Linked DNA regions of Homo sapiens: region 2 is linked to region 1. The links are contacts of gene promoters, found by promoter capture Hi-C in human tissues and cell types (Jung and others, 2019). All regions are on one chromosome and are shown on one strand. Each heading gives the region's core, a stretch centred on a gene start or on the middle of the fragment in contact. The rest is flanking DNA. Distances are from core to core; before and after follow the strand shown.

Region 1 (3,819 bases), core at 371-2,870:
TGGGCTGTTTGCAACTGCCAGCCTTTTTTGCAGCTTGGAGGCCACTTCCTCTCCGTCTAACTCTTCCAACCTCCCTCCCCTGCTCCAGGTCTCTTTTTGCCCCCCTCAGAATTTATTTCTACAGCATCTTCCCTAACCCCCATTAATCACTTGATTATTCTTCAAGGATGAACAATCTTTAGGGGTGTGGCGCAGACTCCCCCAAATCATTTTCCTTCTGCTGGGAAATAAACACAGCTGATTGTAGCTGTGCTACATCTTTGCTAAAAAATTCTCAATGGCTCCCAGGTGCCTCTAGGTAAATTCCAGCTCCTCAGTCTGTCAGTGAAGGTCCTACCCCCGCCTCCATCCCATTAGCCAGCAGACCTTCCTAGTCTTCCTTCCACCACTCCAACCAGCTCATGGGGCCCCTGAGTGCGATTCTCTCCTACTCTAGAGTGCAACCGCGCTTTCAGTTCCCAAACCCAAGTTATGCCTAACACGAATTGATTCAGCCCAAAGGTCACTTCCCTGGTTCTTCCTGGTGGAAAATTTTCCATCTTTTGAACCGTCATTGGCACTTTTGCTTCCTCACTTTCAGTCTGCTGTTCTGATTTTTTCTCGGTAAGTGTGAAGTCGAGGGCAGAATCTTTTAAAATCTGCACTTCCCCTCTGACTGACTCAGTAAATGTTTAGTTTCCTGTCCCTATCTGTAAAAGCCTTCTTCCCCATGAACTCAAGCCGTGTCTCCTTCATTAGACTGAAAATCTCCCAGAGCAGAGCGTCTCCAATTTAAGGATCATTCCAATCCTTTGGGGACTTTGTTAACATGCAGATTCTGACTCGGCAGGTCTGCAGAGGGGACTGAGACTGCATTTCTAACAAGCTGCCAGGTGACGCTGAAGCTGCCGGTGCCTGGACCACATTAGAGCAGCGGGGAGGCAATACCACCTGTTGATCAGGCGACAGCTCATGTCAGTGGAGTCTGGCTGGGCGCCCAGATGGATGAATGAAAGGATGAGAGGGTCGGTCCTGCCCCCCGGAGGAAGTGGAGGCCGCCCGGAGGTTGTCAGCGAGTCCGGCCAGCACACTTACCTATGGTGGAAACGACGGTGCCCACGAAGTAGAAGGCGCCGGTGAAGTCCCAGCGCGGGCGGACGTTGTCCACGCGGATGCCGGCCCGAGTGGCCTCCTCGTAGTGGCGGAGGAAGCCGCGCAGCTCGTCGCGGCTCAGGTTGTGGCCGCGGCTGAAGTTGGCCAGGCGCTCCTCCCAGCGCTGCTTGGCCTGGCGCTCGTGCGCCAGCTCCAGCGCGGAGAAGACGGCGGCGCCGCCCAGCAGGTAGAGCACGATGAGCGCGGCCAGCAGCAGAAAGCGCGCGTTGTCCTCGTTCAGGTGGCCCGGGCCCCAGCTGAAACCCCGGCCAGCCATGGCCGGGCCCCCGGGGGCAGCCCCCAGGCCCACGGCACCGGGCGTCGGCGGAGTCTCGCCCACACCCCCGGGAAATAAGGGCCCCGGCGCTCAGCCAGCTCCCGGGCGCCCCACCGCCGGCTCGCCCATGACCGCCGGGCTCTCCCGCAGGCCGCGAGGCTCCCCCGGCCGCCGCCTCGGTAGCTCCTGTGGCGCCAGCTCCCCACGTCCTCCTTGACTCCTAGTTTCAAATCCGCTTTGTCGCCGCCGTTCCCCTCCACTCCCCCTGCTCTCCTCGGAGTTCTCCTTAACGCTGAAGGTCCCGGGGAACGGGCGCAGAGTTCACGTCTGCTTGGCGCTGGGATGCGGGCGCAGTTTCCACCCCGGCTCCCTGTCCGGCTCAGATAGGGGAGGGGGCGTGGCGCGTCTTCAGGGCAAGCTCGAGCCAACTCGAGTTTCCCGCAAAGAGACGGTCGCGGGGCGGGGCGGGGCGGGGCGGGGCGGCGGGGGGGGGGCGCGGTCCGGAGGTCTGCGGGTAAGCAGAGCGCCGGGGTCCTGGGTCCTGGTTCCTTTGACTATCGCTTCGCAGGCCGCCGACGGCTAGGACACGGGTGTCAGTCTGCTGGCTTTGTAGGTGCCTCCCCAGGTAGATCGACGATGGTGCCTCCTAGTTGTGGTCGTGGTGTCGCGCTGAGCCTGTGGCCTCCCGAGTCTCCGAATCGGCTGCCGGGGCTTAGGGATGGAGGGGGTCCAGGGCGGGCGCACGGAGAGAGGGGCTGTGCTGAGCGGCGTCCGAGGGCTGCGGCGTCCGAGGGCTCCGACCTCCGGCCGGGCCCCAACGCTGCGCATCCGTTGGGCGGACGGGCTGGAGAGAGGAGACCAGAAAGGGAGGTTGGAACAGGGAGCAAAGGAAGTTAGGGGCTTCTCCCCCGGGCAGCCTCCCTCGCCTTGACCATGCCAGAGCGCCCTTGGTCTCTGGATCCTGCGCGGGGGCGTCCTCTGCGCCTACTAGTAGGCTCCGCCCGGACCAAGCGCGCACCGCGAGCCAGCCCCGCTTCCGGAGAGGAGGCCAAACACTGGGGGCTGGAAGGGCTCCGCGGCCAGGAGACCTTGACCTTGGAGCGTTCCATCTCTTCCCCCCGGGCTTGGCTGCCTAGTGCGTTCCAGAGTTTTGCCTGGACGCGGGGTCCGCGCAGAAGGCATCCCCCACCTCATGCAGAACAGTAGCAAGGCTCTCCAGCAAACCGCCGGGGCCCCCTCCCCGAGACCCCGCCTTGTAGCGGGCGCTGGCGCCGCTGCCGCGCTCAGATCTCACCTTCCGGGGAGCGCCCTCTCCGCGCCGCTCCGTCGGGACTGTTCCCGGGCCTCCTGGCAGCCGCGGCCCTGCCCTGCCAGCCGGCGCGCGGAGCACAGGTCCGCACCGCGCTCTGCCTTCTCAGGCGGGCGCGCTCCGACGCTGCAACAGGTAGAGCCGTGCGGCTGCCAGCTGCGGCGACTCCACCCTGTCGCCCGCCTCCTTGCGCGCGGGCCCGCCTCCTGCGCTGGTCTCCGCGGGTAGACGCTCGGCGTTCGAAGGGCCGACCCGGGGCTGCGGTGCTCCCACCAGGGCGCGCAGATCTGGGTAGTGGATGCAGAACCGGCTGGTGGGACGCTCAGCCGGTCCGCGTGGGCCCTCCGGGGCCGGGAGAGGGCGCTCTGCCCCCTCCAGACACATCCCGCCCCCGCCCGCGCACACAGCCCCGCGCGGCCCTCCGGAATCACCCGCCCGGGCGTGTGGGAGCGAATCTGTACGCGGAGAGGAATGGATACGTGGGCATCTTCCCACCTTCCGAGAGAGCGGTTTCAGGCGCAGAGCCCCACACACCGCCCTTACGCACCAGGAGCAGAGACAGAAGGGCTAGGAGCCCTGTTGAGTAAAACCGTGTGATTTCGAATAAAGAAACACAGCTCTGGCGAGTGCATTTTCATCAGAAACCCTGGTGCTGTTAGCAGTCCTCTCGGCTCTGTTACTCACTCCCCAATGCCCCTCTTTCATCTAGCCTTCTGAGGGGCAAGAGCTTTAGGGGCATCGCGAGAATGGGTGCATGTGTATACACCCAGGGTGAGTACTGCAATTACCTTTTAAATCCATTTTATTATGAAAAATTTCAAACATTCTAAAAAGTTGAATTTTACAGTGAACACCCGTATACCCACCACCTAGATTCTACAATTAACATGTTACTATACTTGATTTATTAGATATCTACCCGTCCCTCTGTCCATCCATCAACCCATCTTGTTTGGATGCATTTCAGAGTAAGTTGCAGAGCTTGGTACACTTCCGCCCTCATCCCCAGTACTTCTGCCTGCATATCACTACGTAGGGTTCAATATTTACTTGCAGAATTTTTTTCCTTTTCGGATAAAATTTACATACAATGAAATGCACA
Region 2 (3,819 bases), core at 175-2,674, 190 kb before region 1:
AACTGTTGTAATAAATGAGAAAATGCTGGAAAAGTACTTGGTACATGCTTAGAATACTACCCAGAAATCCGTATAAGACCTCTATGAGGCCGGGCGCGGTGGCTCACGCCTGTAATCCCAACACTTTGGGAGGCCGAGGCGGGCGGATCATAAGGTCAGGAGTTCAGGACCAGCCTGGCCAACAGAGTGAAACGCCGTCTCTACAAAAATACAAAAATTAGCCGGGCGTAGTGGCGGGCGCCTATAGTCGCAGCTACTTGGAAGGCTAAGGCAGGAGAATCGCTTGAACCCGGGAGGCGGAGATCGCGCCACTGCACTCCAGCCTGGACGACAGACCAAGACTCCGTCTCAAAAAAATAAAAATTAAAATTAAAATAAAAAAGACCTCTATGAGATCTGGCCTTCTTGCCGTTCATGATACAGGTTAAACATTCCCATCTCAGGTCCTTTGCACTTGCTGTATCTTCTGCCTTGACCACATTTCCCTCAGACATCTGCAGGGGTTACTCCCTCAATTTCGGTCCGCTCAAATTTCACCTCCTCAGAGCTACCTTCGCTGACTCTATAAAAAGCAGCCACTCCTCCAAGCTATCCCTTTCTATACAATAACCATACAACAATGACCACCCCACCCCTGACATCATATTACATATTTCTGATGATTGTCTGCCTTCTGCTCTAGAATGTACGCACTATGAAGGCAGGGACTTCAATCAATCCTCAGTGTCTACAACAGAAGCTAGCCAAAAGTTTAACAACAACAACAAAACACCAAGTGCTCAGTAAATACTTGTTTAGTGAATTGATGAATAAATGCTAGCTGTTTTTATTATTACTACTGCACCACGGGCCCTTTCCGTCTTAGCTCCGCCTGTCATAACAACGTCTTTAAGGCCTCCTTCAAATGCCCCCAGCTCCGAAAGGCCTTCCACGACTCCGCGCTCAACTCCTCAGGTGGAATGAATCCCACCCTCTTCTCCAGCACCCTTCACCTGCCCGACTCAAAAAGCATTTTTCCCGGTGACTCGAGGAGGCGCCCCCGAAACTCCCAGCGCCGATCAGCAAAGCCCTGGTCGGCGGAGCAGCAAAGCCAGCGGCCTGATCCGTTCTGCCGCCCCACAAGACCACGCAGGAGACCCTCTCTCTGCTCTGAGCCCCGGCCCCAGGATCCCCGGGCAAGGCCCGTTGGTCGGCCCCGGCCCGCGGTGGACATGAGCGCGGTCTCTGGGAGCCTCCACCCGCCGAGAAGATCAGGCCGGCAAAAGGAGAAGAGGGCTGTCCCAGTTCCTCGGGCAGCCGCCTCTTTCTCTCGCCTCAGGCTGCTGAGACCCCATCGCACCGCGACGACCAGCGGAAAGAAACCCTTAGTCACTCACCATCTTGCCTTGGCCACTTGAGCTGCCGCTGCCGGAAGTTCCTCCACCACTGCGGCCCGCCAGAGGCGGAAGTCGTTAGGGACGCTACGGAAGCTGATAGGAACCAAATTCTGCGCTGACCAAGTTGTGCTCCAAGGGCTTGTGCGGGCGGTCTAGGGCAACGCAGCAGTTTATAAGCATAAAGTGAACTTTATAAATATTTTACTTGAAAGAAATTTTTGAATACCCGTTATGAGGCGCTTGTCAACAACTTAAGACAATGACCCCTACTGTCAAAGAATTAGGACAATCGTGAAAATATAAAATATTTAAATTATGCAAAATTTATAACTGGGAAGAACTTTATGGTTCTAAAAACTGGAATGGTATTTGGAACTGGGAAGTTGACATATACATTTGCACAAATATTTCAGTTATTATTCAGCTTCTGGAATTTAACCTGCACATCTGGGAGTATGTGTGTAACGAGTCTTCTAAACCTGTCTTTTTCTGATGACCTGTGACTTGTGATGATGCCAAATGTCTTAAATTCCTCATCTTGAAGCTGATTGGTAAAGTTCCTCATTTGTTACACCCTCCAGGACATCAGAAAAATGGCAACAATCCCTTCTGTTTCTGGAAATTTCATTAACAAGTGCTCAAAATACTGCATCTTTCTGAACTGGAGAAATGGATGATTTTTTTTCTGCTCCAGATTGATTTAGGGATTTTAGTTGTGAAACACTAAAAATATTTCCCTTATGAACACACAACAGGTATACTTCTTCCTTTTCATCATCACTGCAACACGGTAATAGAAAGTCTTAGCACTATCGACCTCTGTTAACAAATCTGGCATCTAGTGTACATGACACATGAAATCACACGATAGGACAGTATCACACATAGGATAGAGATGGTGAAACTCCCATCTCTACTAAAAATACAAAAATTAGTCGGGCATCATCGTGGGCATCTGTAATCCCAGCTGCTTGGGAGGTCGAGTCATGAGAATCTCTCGAACCTGGGAGGCGACGGTTGCAGTGAGATCACGCCCCTGCACTCCAGTCTAGGTGACAGAGCGAGACTCTGTCTCAAAAAAAAAAATTAATAAAAATTTAAAAAACAAAATAAATATCCTTTCCCTAATGCATTTTACAAGAAACAAGTAAATAGTAAAATATATAGTATGCCACATAGTGGTAAATGCCATAGGAAAAATTAATGCCTAGGAAAAATGCCTAGGATTAGGAGCATGCAGCAGTGGTGGGTGATTTTAACTTTAAATTGGATGATACTTGAGCAAAAGCCCGTAAGGCATGAAGGAGTAAGCTATTCAGATATCTGGTGGAAGAGCTTTCTAGGTAGAGGGAACAGCCAGGGCAGAGGCCCTGCAGTAGAAGCTGCAGAGGATGGAGATTAGAGACACCATATAGTGAAGAAGTCAGAAACAGGCACATAACTCCCAGTGGAAGCTCAGCGGTTAAAGGCGAGTCAATAGAACCCAGTAATGAAGAGAGTAGCCAACGTTGGCATCAGACTTTCCTATTGTGGCTGTAGGAAGTGACATAAAGTAAGCAGAAAATTTAAGTTTATCTACATAATGGACAGCTAAGAGAAAGCAGGGAGAGGATTAGAAAGACTACTTGGAGTGCTCAGCACTTGGGGAGGTTGGAAGTTGCAAGTGGAAAAGAGGGAGAGTTGCAGAGATGACTGTCAACCGGGTGGGGAGGATTGAGAGTCAGCCATAGGGCAAAAGAGATGCACAGGGGCTGGGCGCCGTGGCTCACGCCTGTAATCCCAGCACTTTGGGAGGCCGAGGCGGGTGGATCACCTGAGTTCAGGAGTTCAAGACCAACCTGACCAATATGGTGAAACCTCATGTCTACTGAAAATACAAAAATTAGCTGGGAGTGGTGGCAGATGCCTGTAATCTCAGGTACTCGGGAGGCTGAAACGGGACAATCGCTTGAACCTGGGAGGCGGAGGTTGCAGTTAGCCGAGATTGCGCCATTGCACTCCAGCCGGGGCGAAAAGAAGGAAAATCCATCTCAAAAAGAAAAAAAAAGAAAGTGACCATAAATGTAGTGCTCAAAGCTAGAAGGTCTCTGGGTTAGAAGTTCAACTTGGGTCTCACAGGGCTAAAATCAAGATACCAACAGGTTTCCTCTCCGGAGGCTCTGCTCTAGCTGTGTGACATCAGCAAGTCATCCTCATTTTCTCATCTGTATAACGGGATAATTATCTACCTTGCCGGCTGAGGATACGGAGAGGATAAAACTCTTGTTTTTTGATTCTTAAGAGATTTTTGCCAAAAGTAGATGGAATGGAGGCTGAGGTAGGAAGGTGTCCAAACGTGGACGGAGGGCTCATGCTAGGGTGGACAGAGGGGGCGGGGCCGGGGTGGACAGAGGGCAGGTGCCAGAGGCGAGCGTGCATCCTGTTCAGCAGCCCCCCTGCAACC

The links. Contacts are between HindIII fragments. The study calls those that stand out against the background at their distance.
Region 2: the fragment with the promoter of PSMC1 here is called in contact with the fragment with the promoter of KCNK13 in region 1 in 1 of the 25 tissues and cell types used here (neural progenitor cells).

Annotation. Positions count from the first base shown.
Region 1 is chr14:90,059,795-90,063,613 of GRCh38, reverse strand. It overlaps KCNK13 (potassium two pore domain channel subfamily K member 13), which reads right to left and starts at 1,620. Exons shown (of 2, transcript NM_022054.4): 1 at 1,075-1,620. The coding sequence starts at 1,408. LOC124903406 reads right to left here. Exons shown (of 3, transcript XM_047432048.1): 2 at 2,703-3,212; 3 at 1,881-2,252. The coding sequence ends at 1,988. RefSeq lists enhancers at 1,678-2,177, 2,178-2,679 and a silencer at 2,928-3,317. The HindIII fragment of the contact is 23,188 bases long and covers 1-3,819 here.
Region 2 is chr14:90,254,158-90,257,976 of GRCh38, reverse strand. It overlaps PSMC1 (proteasome 26S subunit, ATPase 1), which reads right to left and starts at 1,424. Exons shown (of 11, transcript NM_002802.3): 1 at 1,377-1,424. The coding sequence starts at 1,379. RefSeq lists enhancers at 721-1,248, 1,134-1,373, 1,249-1,778. The HindIII fragment of the contact is 25,675 bases long and covers 1-3,819 here.